Regions from separate parts of the Homo sapiens genome. Here regions 1, 2, 3 and 5 are each linked to region 4. Evidence: promoter capture Hi-C in 16 types of primary human blood cells and fetal thymus (Javierre and others, 2016). All regions are on one chromosome and are shown on one strand. The core of a region is centred on a gene start or on the middle of the fragment in contact, and the rest is flanking DNA. Distances in the headings are between cores, read along the strand shown.

Region 1 (2,700 bases), core at 66-2,565, 640 kb after region 4:
CATGCCTCAAGGTTTGAACACATAGCTGGAGTGGCCCCTTACTTTTCAGTGTTGTTGCTACTCGTGTGCTAAGACCTCCCGAAAGCCTTGTGCCTGGCTTCTGACTCCTGACATGTACGTTAGGAAGATAGTACTTATATTAAATAATAAAAATAATAAAACAAACACACACTCCATTTGACTTCTAAAGTGCTATCAAACTTGAGAAGTAGGCAGAATGGCTGATTCATAATAGGGGAAACTGGTTTTACAAACTACTTTTCATCCAGAATGGCATACTTCTTTTTTATTATAAATACGATGATGAAACCTAAAATATCCCCAATAAAAGCGAGGATGGGTTGTGATATATCTGTTCTTCCTGAGGTAGCCTGCAGTTGAAGATAGTCGGTTCCAGAAAACATTGGCATGAGGCACCGGAAGTGATATTCTGGACAAGGTGATTAGATGAGGTTCTAAAGTTGTGAGGTGCTTTTTTGAAAATTAGCAACATTATCTTTGATGAATGAGGTTGTTTTCTTAAAAGTAAGTGGTTGAAAAAACTTACAGTCCACAGATGACACCTATCAAAAGCATACTGAATTTAGATTAGTAATTTTGATTGTAAGATAGTTCTGTGAGCAGACAAAAGATGGGTTCTTTTCCCTCCCTATTGGTTTTTAAGCCATTTCAGGTTTCGTTTATCTGATAAGACGTGGCGAGAGAGAAGCGTAATAATGGAAAAGCTAAATTTTCTTTTTTTTGTAAATGCTTTTGAGCTAAAGATTTTTAAAAAGGATATATAGATGCCATTTATGATTAAATTTATTGGGTGAATCTGTCAAGACCGCAAACTTTGTTAGTTTGGGGTAAAATGCTTTGCTTTGGGAGCTTTCATGTTGTTTGAGGTTCTTTGGGGGTATAGTTTAAATTAAAGCACAATATAATTCTAGTACCACTGCAAAATAACCTCAGAGAGTATTGTTTGTTTTGTGCATTAGCAAGCTGACATGCTTCTAGTTGCTAGATTCCAAAGGTAATTTTTTTTTTGTTTTGGAAAAGCTTTTGATGAATTTAAGTCTGAATTATTTGAAATAATAGTGTATCATATGAATACTTGCTCTTCACCTTCACATACTTAGAGAACCCTGCAGTAATTTGAATCCAATCTAGTATTCCATTGAAGTGAGTATGACTATGAAGATGCCGCATACTCTTAAGAGCATTTACCTAGGGTGTCGTAATCACATTATAAAATAAAATTGATGGCTTATTTTGCAAATGCTATCAAAGCACTTGTTCAGTGAACTCTGGAATGAAGTTTTTTTTTTTTTTTAAAGTGACTTTCAACAAGTTTTTATTTTCTAGCTTCTAATGAATGCCTACTACTATACCAGGTATTGTGGAGAATAGAACAGAAACAGCAATTTACCAGTTGGGTAAATTGCTTACCCAATGGTAAATTACCGATGGGTAAATTGCTTAGCCATTGGAAAAAGGAAAATACATATATGAGACACCATGGTCAACAATTGGAACAGAGTCATATTGAATAAGGACTGAAAGAGTTAAGAGTAAAGGGAGAATACTGTAGGCTGGATTTTTCTGAGAAAGCTTTGTAGAGAAAGTCATACTTGATTTGGCTCTTAATAGAAGTATAAGCTTTCTTAGAAGGTGGAAGAGTTCAGCATAGCATGAGCTAAGGCACTTGATTTTCTAATCCTTTTGCATATTTTCTCCTAGGTAAACCTAAAGGAGAAGAGGACTGTCAGTGGCAATTAACTTCTTTGTAGTGGGCATAATTTTCTATGATAAACTACATACTAAATTAACAAATTAAATATAATTTCACAGATATACATGCTATAGAAATCAGGCTTTAAAATAATCATCCTATTTCCTGAGGCAAGTGAGAATGTTTTCTAAGCAGATATAGGTAGAGTGTTAAGTTCACATGTTTTTGTAACCTGTACATTTTTTTTTACTGTCTATTAAGAGACAGTTATATTCTAAGTGTTTCATACAACACTGGTCTGATAGTACATTAGATTATTAATATGCTCCAAAGACTATTTCTTGATAAAATAAATTAGGGAAATTTTATAAGCAACATTCATTTTGATTCATTAGTATATGATAACTTAGTTTTTAGTACTACATTTAGTACTGCTATTGCTACCATTTTCTGAAAACAAAGGGAGGGGTATGTCAGAGTCCCACAAATTCATATCTGTCAAAGTTCTAATATCATGTTATTAATGTATATATTAATAATTGACAACATCAATGTTTAAACTGCAATTACAAACCTCTGCAAAGCTTATTTTGGTACATTTCTAACAACCTTCCGCTATATTGAAAATTAGTCAGATGACTAATTGTCTCCTAGGTTTTAGTCAGCCATTGTAAGTTGACATTTACACAGAAAAATAACGAGGTATGGAGTTATTCCATCCGTAGAGAGGTATGTCTCCTAACAGAAATTCACATATTAGAATTCCAAATATAAAGAATTCACAGATTTACTCTGAGGAACAATATACTCAAACTTGAAATTTTTGAGGCTTTATACACCTTCTGTACCTTTTTTTTGGTATCTTTTGCTGCCAGCAGTAGTCTTCTTTGATTAAAGTTAACTTTAATTCACAGTAGCTAATAGTTTCTAGGCTCAACAAATATAATTGTTATTTTGAACATCCTCTGCTTAGCACATTAGCTATT
Region 2 (2,700 bases), core at 54-2,553, 840 kb before region 4:
CTGGGCGACAGAGTGAGACTTTGTCTCAAAAAAAAAAGTGAAATAATTTTTCCAAAGTAATCCATCAAATAATTCATAGAGCAAGGAAATGCATTACAATGTCCATTAACATAAATACATGTACTGAAAACTGAAACAATCAAAGTGGTCATTCATAAAATGGAAAAATAAATTGTGGTAGAGTTACACATTAGAAACAGTACAGTAGGGAAAATAAATTAACTGTTAATAAAAGTTATCAACATAAAGCTCCCAACCATATTTTGACTAAAAACAAGTTGAGAAGAATATATACAGTATACCATTTATATTAGATTTTAAAGGAAGTAAAATATATATTTCTGAGATATAAATGTACATGTGGTAAAAAATTTAAAAAATTATTCATAGAAAAAATAAACCCCAAACTCATGATTGGAGTAATGGAATTAAGGAAGGTTACACAGAAGATCTCAGCTGTATTGATCAAATTTTTACTTGTTAAACTGAGCTAAGGCTACAATGGTATCGGTTGAATTTTTCTTTACAACCTTGTGTATTGCTTAATATGTAATACTTTAAAAAAGAAAGTAAATGGTATCTGGAGTATAAAAATTAATGTTGAAATAAATGTACATGGATCTTTAAGAAAAAAAAGAAAGAAAGAAAGTTGGGGAAGGACGTTGAGAAGGAAAGCAGAAGTGGGGAGGAAAAACAAATGCTACAATTCCACTACCCAGAGATTTTCATTGCTAGTTGTTTTGTTCATAATTTCCTATAGCATTTTTTCTGTTCATATAGAAGTATGTATTCACATATATTGTAAAGAAATATTTGATAATATTATGACTACTACTAGAAAACCTATTTTGTAACTTATTTCACAGGCACCAAATCAGTGCCATTTAAAAGGGCTGTATTCTATCCAATCATATTGTTATACCACAATTTATTTTACCAATTCACTATTGATGGGCATTTAGATTATTTCCAAAGTGTGCTATTACAAATAATGCTGCAATTAACACATTATATGTGTATGTGCATACCTGTGTGTATTTTCAGTAGTAACTGTGTTGAAAAAAAATTCCTAAGGGTAGAATTTCTAGGTCAAAGACTAAGAGGTTTTCAAGTTTGTTACATATGCCAAATAGCCCAACAATAAATGATTATACTAATTTACACACTTAATACTGTAATTGAGTGCCAGTGTCCCCAAACTCTGCACAACACTGGGCATAAACAATCTTTTTATCCCCTTGTCAATCATAATCTGCTATTCCGTTTTTTCATGTGCATTTATTAGTGAAGCTGAGTCACTTTTTAAACGTTTACTCACCATACTTGAATAACTTCTTCTGATTTTTTTGCCATTTTGTTAACATTTTTGAAGTTTTAATTATTATGGATATATAATAGTTGTACATATTTATGGGGTACATGTGATATTTTGATTAGAACATACAATGTGTAATAATCAAATCAGAGTAGATGGTATAACCATCACCTCAAGCATTTATCATTTCTTTATGTTAGAATCATCTCAATTCCGCTTTTTAGTTATTTTGAAATACATAATAAATTATTGTTAACTATAGTCGTCCTATTACGCTACCAAACACGAAATCACAAATACCAGGAAAGTTAACGGAGAACTGGATCAGGAGCCAAAATGTTTACATTCGAATTAAGGCTCTGGATTAATGAAAATGCGTAACCAGGAAAAGAAAGAACAAGAATAATGGGGACATAGAGGGTGAGAGAGGAGAAAAACGAGAAGAAAAAGCCATGTAAGGAAAAAGAATTTGCGCCTCAGGGTCCCCCTCCCCCTCTGCCCTGTTCCAGACACCTATTCTCATTCCCGCACTCCTACCCCTGGCGTCCTGCTAGCTGGTCTGGCTTCCTTCCCTCTGGAAAAAGGCAAATTATTCAATAAAGGGAGGATGAGTCCTAGCTCATCCCCACTTCTTGTCTCCTGCCGGGTGTTCAAATACAACTTACCACGCAGTCACCGCCATCCAACTGCATGTCACTCTCCACTTCGCCACGGTCTGAACTCTTGGCCACAAGATCTAAGCCTTCCGGATGCCCCAGCCAGTTCAGGCTGCTGGTCTCTTGTCCCTAAGCCTTTGCCGAGGTAGTCGGCTTACTTGATGCCAGCACACCAGGCCCCCCACCACCCGCTGGAAGCACAGGCCCCAGCTCAGGTCAGGTTCCGGAACCTAGCGTCCCCAGGTTCTCACGTGACTTAGTTTCCCAGGCAATAGCGCTTTTCTCCCGGATGTAGCAGTCAGCTGAAATGGAGAGAGTGCTTCTTAAAGTTAACCCTCAAACCACCATGGCCAGTGAATGCAGAATAAGCCCGCTGAGAGTTTCGTCTATTTCTATGGCATTATGCTGGAAATTATAAAGAAAAGGGATGAAAAAAACTGGAGACTTTTCACCAACAACAACATACAGATCTGTATTATTAGGATTCTTAAAATGAGTATGTGTTGTTTTTATAATTAAACTAACAAAAGGAAAATAAATAATGATGAATAATTAAAGCGGGATTATGTATACAACAAAACCGTATGATTACAACAGCACCTTATGTAGCTTTGAAAATAGGTAATGCTTCATGAGAGAAGTTATAGCAGTGTGCAAATATCAATTCAGACCTTAAACAAGAAGAATATACACACCAAAAGAGATTTCTTTAAACAAAATCTATGCTGT
Region 3 (2,700 bases), core at 123-2,622, 590 kb after region 4:
TAGAGAGTCTGCCTCCAGAAGCCATGCTCTCACCTACTATGTTCTATTAGTTACCCAAGATCCCAGTTCTTAGGAAGTTTACATTCTAGTAGGAGGAGCCAGACAATAATGACAGAAAAGAAAAAAAAATAAACATAATAATATTTGGGGGAGATAAGCCCATAAGACACTAATTGAGGATAATAGGACAGAATGATGGCAGGAGGGGGAATGTTTTAGTTAGGATGGTCAGGGAAGGCTCCTGTTCAGAGATGACATTGTAGTGGAGACATAAGGAGTTGGGCATACAATGATCTGGAGGAAGAGTGCTCCAGGCAGAACGAATAGCCGGTGCAATGGTCCTGAGTCAGAAAATGCTTAGCCTATGAAAAAAAAAAGTAGGTAGGGCTCTGGCTGATTAAGGGGAGCAGAAGTAGACTGAGGAGACAGTTTATGTCATTGAACTGTTATTCTAAAAACAGGGTCTTGTAAACCATGGTGATGAGTCTGGGTTTTATTCTAATTACAATAGGCAAACATTGAGGGTTTTAAGCAGGGGAGCAACATGATCTAGTTTTTAAACATCACTGACTGCTGTGAGAACAGATTTTATTGGGGCAAAAGTGGAAGTAGGAAAACCAGTGGGAAAACTATTACAGTTGTCCAGGAAAGAAATTATGGTGGCTTGAATTACAGTAGTAATAGTAGATATGAAGAAAAATGGGCTGATTGGGAACATATTATTGGGCACAGAACTGATATGATTAGCTCATGGATAGGATGGAGAGGTACGGAGGGCGAGATAAGGCATCTAAAATGACTCCTGGATTTTTGGCTTCAGTAATAAGGTCAGTGCCATTCACTGAAACAGGAAAGACTGGAAGAGAACCGTACGATGTTAGAGCTAGAAGGCACTCACATGTGATATATGGAAAAACTGAAGAACAGAAATGGTAATTGACCTCCCTAGGTTAGGGAGTTAGGAGCTGAGATAGGTAATCTCATTCTTCACACTCTCTCAGAAAATTTTCATGTTCTCCATCACTTCAGCCCTTCAGCTGGGGTGTTGAGGGGTGTGTTTGAAGCCTTAACTTTGAAGATTCCCCTAGGAGATGGGACTTGTGGGTGATTAGCCAGAATTTGTATCTGCTTACATAGACAGTGCTAGGTATTCTCAGGCAATGTTTCAGCTGAAATTCTTGCTGTTTTTGATGGCTTTATGTCATTGAAATTTCACTCCTCTATTCTTTCTCACCTACCCAATGTCACTGACCTAGATCCCCCAAATGCAAATTTCAGGGAACAAAGATCTGGCAGTGGAAGTAGGGGAGTCCCATTTTTCCCCTCTGCAAGTCCGAAAAACCCTAGTGTAAAAAATCCTATTATAAAAGCAGTCTAGTGTACATCTACTGCATTTTCTTAGTAAACTTTCATCCACACCCTCCCCTCTTCTTCAATTCTCACCTCTTTGAGAGTGACCAAAACTGACTGTCTAGCTCCAATGACCTTCCGTTTCTAACAGCCTCCTTTATATCACCAGAACTAAGTATGGGATTGAGTTTCCAAAAGGGCTGAGTCTTACCAGGTTCCCTGCACATCTTTCCCAGGCTGGGGTACTTTAGAACTACTCATAGGGCCCTTGTCCCCCTCACAGAGCTGTTTAATGATTAAATGAAAAGAGATAAGTTATGAGAAAGCACCTAGCACATTGGTTGAATTATAATAGGCATTGATTACAGGTCAATATCCCTCATCCTTCTCACCACTTGCCCTAATTCTTAGAGTCATTTGGAGAACCCAAATTTGGGGATAATTCAGTGAATAGAAACAGGAGAGAAGCATGAAAAAACTATAAATAAGTTGTCTTGATTTAGGCTTGAGAAGACAATGACAGAGGCTTCATTTAGAAATCTCAAAATGGACAGGGCAGCATTTGATGTGAAGGTTGTAGCCATTATTTCCCCTAAGTTTGGGGCAAAATGGCTTCATTTATAGTAGAAGCGTTAGAGGGATGATAACTTATAAAGCCACAATGACAAATAAGCAACCACAAGGAAAAGATGGACAGATTCAACTGTATAAAAATGTACAATGAAAAATGACACTCATAAAATAAAAATGAAACAGACTGGGAAAGTAAAAATAACACATAAATCTTAGTAGTACCCCACCCAGGGGTTGGTTGCATTGTAAACAATAGACCAAACCTTATGCCTATGAATGAAACATCTGGTATCTGCAAGTAAACAGATTGGGAGAGGAGTGGGAAGGCAGATGTCCTCTCCTGGGCCTTCAAAATCCCCTTGCATATATCACGTATAATTGCCCAGCTTGACTTCCCAGATAGCCCTTCCTTTCCTAGCACAGGTGGCAGTATGCATAGTGGTGAGGCACCCAGACTCTTCAGTCAGGCTGCCTGAGCTCACCTCTGGTCTCTACTATTTTTAGCTATCTGACTCAAGGGCAAATAACTTCCCCTCTATGGGTTTTGGTCTTCTCGTATGGAAAATGGAAATGATAGTAATTGTAACTAACTCTTAGGGTTGTAATTAAATTAATATACGGAACTGGCTAAAACAGCATAATAAATACTGTAGAAGTGTCTGCTATTATTATTAAGATGGATATTCTTCAATAAACTTTCTTGTTACCTCCTTGTTTTCCATCATTGGCAGCCTAGCTCCCCTACCAGACAGGTTCCTATTATCCTCTAAATCACAA
Region 4 (2,700 bases), core at 77-2,576:
GAGAGCCTGTGCAAAGAAACTCCCGTTTTTAAAACCATCAGATCTCATGAGACCCATTCACTATCACAAGAACAGCACAGGAAAGCCCTGCCCCCATGATTCAACCGTCTCCCACCGGGTCCCTCCCACAACACGTGAGAATTACGGAAGCTACAAGAGGAGATTTGGGTGGGGACACAGAGAAAAACCCTATCAGTAGGTGAGGAAAGCTAAGGCTCAGAGAGGTTAAATAATTTGTCCAAAGTCATTAGCTAAGTAGTTGGTGGGGGTGCAGTGGGCAGCACTTTAATTCAAGTCTTCTGGCTTCAAAATCCATGCTCTTTCCATTAAAAACACGCTGGATTTTTTACCAGGACTTCAATTAGCCTGGACCACGTGTGTTATGATCAACAGGAAAAAATAACCACAGACTAGTTGTGAATTTTTCACTGTTCCCCAGCCCCAGACAGGAGAAAGGAGGGAAGTGGATTTGAAACAGAAAGGGGCTGGCGTTGGGAAGGGAGGGAGTAGGATCTGGAAAGATGAGAGGAAAAAGTAGCAGAAGTAACTCTAACTCGGGACTGGCTAAAAACAGGTGACAACTGGCTAGATAAACCTCTTGGGTTTCTCCTACCGGCTGAGCAGAGCCAGATCCACTCTGCCCCACTCCTCTTCCTTTTCCATTGCCCAGCTTTGGCTGAAGAGATGCTGTGGCCCCCACAAACCCTCACAGGCATGCCGTGGAGCTGGAGCGAGAGTGGGGTTCTGGGCAATCCCTGGGGAAGGTTAGTGGCTGGAGGAGCCAAGAGGATGGTGAAGAAACGCTCGATAAAGGAAGTAACTCCGCAGGAGGCAGAGCAATGTGGGGTATTCGCGAATGGCGGTTACAAGTGCAGCTAGTATAAAAAGCTGAGATAAGGGTGAGTGTGAGGTCAAGGCTAGGGAGGAGCTGGAGTCAGAGGGCCAGAACAGGCGTGCACCAGGAGCGGGGGCGGCGTCGCGTAAGGGGACAGTGGTGCAGACCACCTCTTTCCCGGCCGCTGACGCCCGCAAGCAGATCCTAAGAAGAGGTGTTTGGTTGAAAGGGGGTGTGGACCCAGAAAGAGAACCCGGGACCCCCCACAGGAAAGACGCGTCAAAGAAGGCTGAGAAGGCTGAGGAGGTGTGTCTGGGCTCCCAGGTGAGCACCAAGAGGAAGCTCGCGGCTGTCAGCCTCGCTTAACTCTTCTCCTTACCTTGGGTACCGTAATATGATCCATGACTGCAGTTCCCGCCACCGGAAGATCTCAGTGCTACTCCAGATGCCGCCGCCACCGGTCTAGCCGCCTCCTGCCTCAACCCGGGTTTCTACCCCCGCCCTCCCGGTCCTGGCTCAAACTCTCGTCACCTGATCCTCGGCGAAAGCTCCTATCGCGACACTTTGACCGTAGCCGTTCCCGCCATCTTGCTTCCTGGCAAGTGCCCTTTTCTTCGGGAAATTGATTATTCTGGTTCAGGTTCAACGTTTGGCCGAGTCTTTAAGTCCCAGATTCGAGTACTGCCACCCTTCTCACCCTTCTTGATGCTATAAGGGCTCTGAACACAGATATCACTCCTTTACTCTAATATTACAATGATAGCATCCTGCAGCAGTAACACAGGCTGCCCCATGCTGGCAATTGGGTTTCTGAAGAGCTTCCTAGCTGTGAGACCTTGGGCAAGTCACCAGAGAATATTTTTTGAAATATGGAAAGGTATATCCTCCTCTCTATCTCTCCTTTATGTGTCTGCTGCCATCAACCTAGTTAAAATCTGGAATACTACAGTATCCTCATCACTTTTGCCATCGTAGATATGGGAAGAGGACCAAGAAAGGGCCCACTGGACCAGCTATCAGATGAGGGGTAAATAGGTGCAGACCCTCAGTGGTGTGCTCCAAGTCAGATTTGTGGTGGAAAAAAGAACAATCTGAGAGTTGGGAAATCTGGATTCTACTCCTCTCAGGTCTGCCACTAACTTGCTATGTGACCTTGGGGAAATCATGCCACCTCTCTGGGTCTTAAGTTGACCAAGGTTACAATGAGGGTATTGGCCACTATCTCAGGGTAATTTCTAGCTCTACTATTGCAGTGTTATGGTTTGCAATCTCACTGCCCCTACAAAATAATTTTGTTCTTCTTTGAGTTCTTATAACATTTGCTAGCAAAATTACTCGTTTATCATATTCTGCCTTCTTCCCTAGCCTGAAGGCCCTTCCCTCGATCCATGACCCTATTCTCCCTTGTACCATCGTTCCATCATGTTCAGCCCTTTCACTGCCAAATATCTCAAAAGAATAGTCTACTTATCATCACCTTCACTTCTCCATAACAAACTCACTCCTCCCTACCACTCCACTCAATTGGCTCTTTCACATCATCCTAAATTCCAGCTGCTGATTCCAACAGCTCTTCTCAGTGCTCGTTTTCTATTTGTTTTACAGCATTTAAAACTATTGATTCATATTCCTTTTTGACATTCTTTCTTCCCTTGACCTTTATTATAAACAAACTCACTGCCTGCATCCCCAACTGTTCCTTCTCTGACTCCTTCCCAGCAACTTTCTCTTTTTTTTAAGCCATTTTCCTGGCTTCTATCCTCATTCCTCTTCTATTTTCTTTCTTTTGGTTATCTTGATCTCTTCCACAAGTTAAACCCTTACTCCTGGATATGGCTTGGATCTGTGTCCCCACCAAATCTCAT
Region 5 (2,700 bases), core at 122-2,621, 640 kb before region 4:
GAAATCCTTATAGGTCCTAGCACAAGGAGGCTATTCAGAACTGTGGAACTCAATACTGTCTTTCTTCATTCCTACCACCACACCCCGCATCCACACTCAGGAGTGTGCTCCCCCCCACACACCCCCATGAACATACTGCCACACACCCTACACACACACATACATTCCCAGAGGCTTTCTGCCAAAGGTCTGTCAGGCTCACAGAGGAGAAGGCATTTCGTGACACTATTTAAGTCATAAACCTAGATCAAAGACTAGTCTCAGAGACCCCTTCTCCCCTTGGGGGAAAAAAAGTCAAAAAGCATTCCCTTATTGCTGTCCCAGTTTCCTTCCCAAATAACTAGGCAAAAAAAACCCCTTCGCTTAAACTTGTTATCCAGGCTGTAGTACCAGATATCCTTCCCCTCCTCCCATCACCCTTTGATTAACATTTTCTTTTCCTTTTCACTTGTCTTTCCAGCTCATCCCCCCCACCCCCCACAACTTCAAGTGTCTAGGGGTCATAAAATCATAAAATGCAAGAACTTGGAAGTCACCTAGTGGAGCCATCAAAAAATGCCAATGTTACTGGGAATCCCAAACCCACCGAGGAGGAAAAAAATTGTCCAAGGTCAAACAGCTGCTGAATGGAAAAAACAAAAAACAAAACAAAACAAAACAAAAAAACAGGTCTGCAGCTGCCCAGCATAGAGCCATTCCCCACTCTCCAACACTGTATCAAAACAAAGTGCCCAGAAAAGATATAAGCTTACTTTAAATAATACAATGAAGCTAAGGGGGGAAAAAAACTCACTAAATTATCTTTGCAAAGAAATAGGTTCTCAGTTCCATCCAGGGGGTCTCCACAAACGGACCAAAGAGTAATTAATAAGAACCAATGCCAGCAAACCTCCCAGATCATGTTTACACCATGGTACTAATCTCACAAAAACCTCAGCTTCTCACCCACACCAAGTCAAGGATAGCATGCTTTGAGGCCCAAAACACCCTCTGACGCCATTAAATAATACTCTCTGGGTCCTGTGGCCAAGACAATTTCAAAGGCCCCCTTCACAGCCCCTCTCCTTTCATAATCATTTCCAAAGAGACTGAACAACCGGACATGGAACTTGACAGCATAATGCCAGCAGATTTGCACATCAGACATGAACAGCCACCCACATGGGTGGAGGGGGAGCATGTGTGTAGATGTGTATGTGTCCTGATTCACTGCTATAATACATGAGCCATAAATGGCATTATTTCAAGCCAGGTAAGCAATGGAATGGGGAAAGCCTGCCTACATTAACAGGGGAGAAAGAAAATCAAAACGCAAAAAAACAAGTATTATACAGACTGGCATGAGACATTTTTTTTCCTGGCTCTGCCAAGAGCTTTCTCAGAGGAAACAGAAATATAAAAATAATAGCAATAGCAATAACAACAGAAACCACCACCACCATCTGATACAGACAAGCAGTCATATCTCAAACTGGAATGTTGCTTCCAGCTCATGTTTTCCATGCTCTCATCCCTTTCCTTCTAGACGTTTTTGGGTTTTGGTGGTCAAATTTAGCACCAAAATTTGATAACTCTTAATTTAGCACATTACAGACTTTCAGTTTGTTATGGGAATGTTTCAATTACAGAGACCTCTGATCTTAAAGTAACAAACGGGAGCAAACAATAGCATCACCACTTTCTCATCAGCCTTATCAAGTTACATTTAAAATGTAGTTCAAGAACATCATTGCAAACGAGATTATCCCAAAGGAGCCATATCCAAATACTATTATTCCCAAGGTGGATAAAGAGCTGTTTTTTCTTTCTTGTGGGGTTTTTTTTTTTTTTTGATGAGACAAACAAAATCCCCAAACTCAAATCCAGGGGTACAATCTTTGGGAAAGGGAGCCCAAATAGCTCCTGTCAAAGTCCTCTCTTGCCAGTTCAAAAAATCAGAGAATGCTTTCACATACTATTTCATGATTCCAAGGAAATTGACATTTTAAATATCTTAAAGCTTTAAGGTTCAAGAAGTGTTTTAAATGTGGCTTCTTTCAAAATTGAAAATTGTGAACCCTGGAGAGCAAATTGAGATTCAAAGGACACAGTCACCAACTGCCAGCACAACACACCCGTGTCACTTCCCAAATTCTTGCTTCTCCTTAGACACTAAAGAAGCATTTTCCCTAAATCCATTCCTTGCATCGATTATTTTCCCTCTAAATATCCACTGCAAAGACTGTCTTTCCTATGATGTCAAATATTCATCATGCTCTTCCACAAACCCTTTTCCCCTCAAACAAACCCAAATGCACTCCTGATGGCAAGAGAGAAATTTTGACTAAAATTCCCTGATGGAGTTTAAAGGTAGTCTTCAAGGAAATGAGTTAAGACACCACAGACAGCAAAGCCACTGTTTAAGGACGCAGAGCTTGCTCCATGAACGCCACATAGATTAAAAATGCACACACGCATGCACACTTAAATAGAAAGCATTTCTTCATCAACAATTTCACTCAAGCAATAGGCAACTATACGCGCAGGCATTCTTAAAAGACAAGACACGACAAAAGATTTAGGGAGAGATAATATACCAACGTCATACATATCACAGCGAGGCCATGTTGAAGCTCAAAACGTTTTCCCCCCTGAGTAAGAAAGCTTGTTCTTTCTCTCTCTTTCCCTGTCTCTGTCTGTGATTTTTTTTTTTTCTCGGTG

Evidence for each region. The method cuts DNA at HindIII sites, captures the fragments that hold promoters and counts their contacts. A CHiCAGO score of 5 or more calls a contact.
Region 1: a fragment that was not itself captured here is called in contact with the fragment with the promoter of MTMR8 in region 4 in 3 of 17 cell types (total B cells, activated CD4 T cells and total CD8 T cells); the score reaches 6.9 in total B cells.
Region 2: a contact is called between a fragment that was not itself captured here and the fragment with the promoter of MTMR8 in region 4, in 1 of 17 cell types (naive CD8 T cells). The highest score is 6.3, in naive CD8 T cells.
Region 3: a fragment that was not itself captured here is called in contact with the fragment with the promoter of MTMR8 in region 4 in 3 of 17 cell types (activated CD4 T cells, total CD4 T cells and total B cells); the score reaches 6.4 in activated CD4 T cells.
Region 5: a fragment that was not itself captured here is called in contact with the fragment with the promoter of MTMR8 in region 4 in 1 of 17 cell types (activated CD4 T cells); the score reaches 5.4 in activated CD4 T cells.

What each region holds. Positions count from the first base shown.
Region 1 is chrX:65,035,688-65,038,387 of GRCh38, forward strand. The region is part of intron 1 of ZC3H12B (zinc finger CCCH-type containing 12B); the gene reads left to right. Among named protein-coding and RNA genes, the nearest start is that of ZC3H12B, 2.2 kb to the left of the region's middle. The HindIII fragment of the contact is 552 bases long and covers 1,040-1,591 here.
Region 2 is chrX:63,558,852-63,561,551 of GRCh38, forward strand. LINC01278 (long intergenic non-protein coding RNA 1278) reads right to left here and starts at 2,244. Exons shown (of 4, transcript NR_152613.1): 1 at 1,981-2,244. RefSeq lists an enhancer at 1,424-1,965. The HindIII fragment of the contact is 5,008 bases long and covers 1-2,700 here.
Region 3 is chrX:64,980,747-64,983,446 of GRCh38, forward strand. It overlaps a transcript of ZC4H2 not described here. Among named protein-coding and RNA genes, the nearest start is that of ZC4H2, 5.6 kb to the left of the region's middle. The HindIII fragment of the contact is 3,364 bases long and covers 1-2,700 here.
Region 4 is chrX:64,394,126-64,396,825 of GRCh38, forward strand. MTMR8 (myotubularin related protein 8) reads right to left here and starts at 1,327. Exons shown (of 14, transcript NM_017677.4): 1 at 1,215-1,327. The coding sequence starts at 1,238. RefSeq lists enhancers at 955-1,214, 1,225-1,514. The HindIII fragment of the contact is 5,336 bases long and covers 1-2,700 here.
Region 5 is chrX:63,751,728-63,754,427 of GRCh38, forward strand. All of the region lies in intron 1 of ARHGEF9 (Cdc42 guanine nucleotide exchange factor 9), which reads right to left. Among named protein-coding and RNA genes, the nearest start is that of ARHGEF9, 32 kb to the right of the region's middle. The HindIII fragment of the contact is 1,252 bases long and covers 746-1,997 here.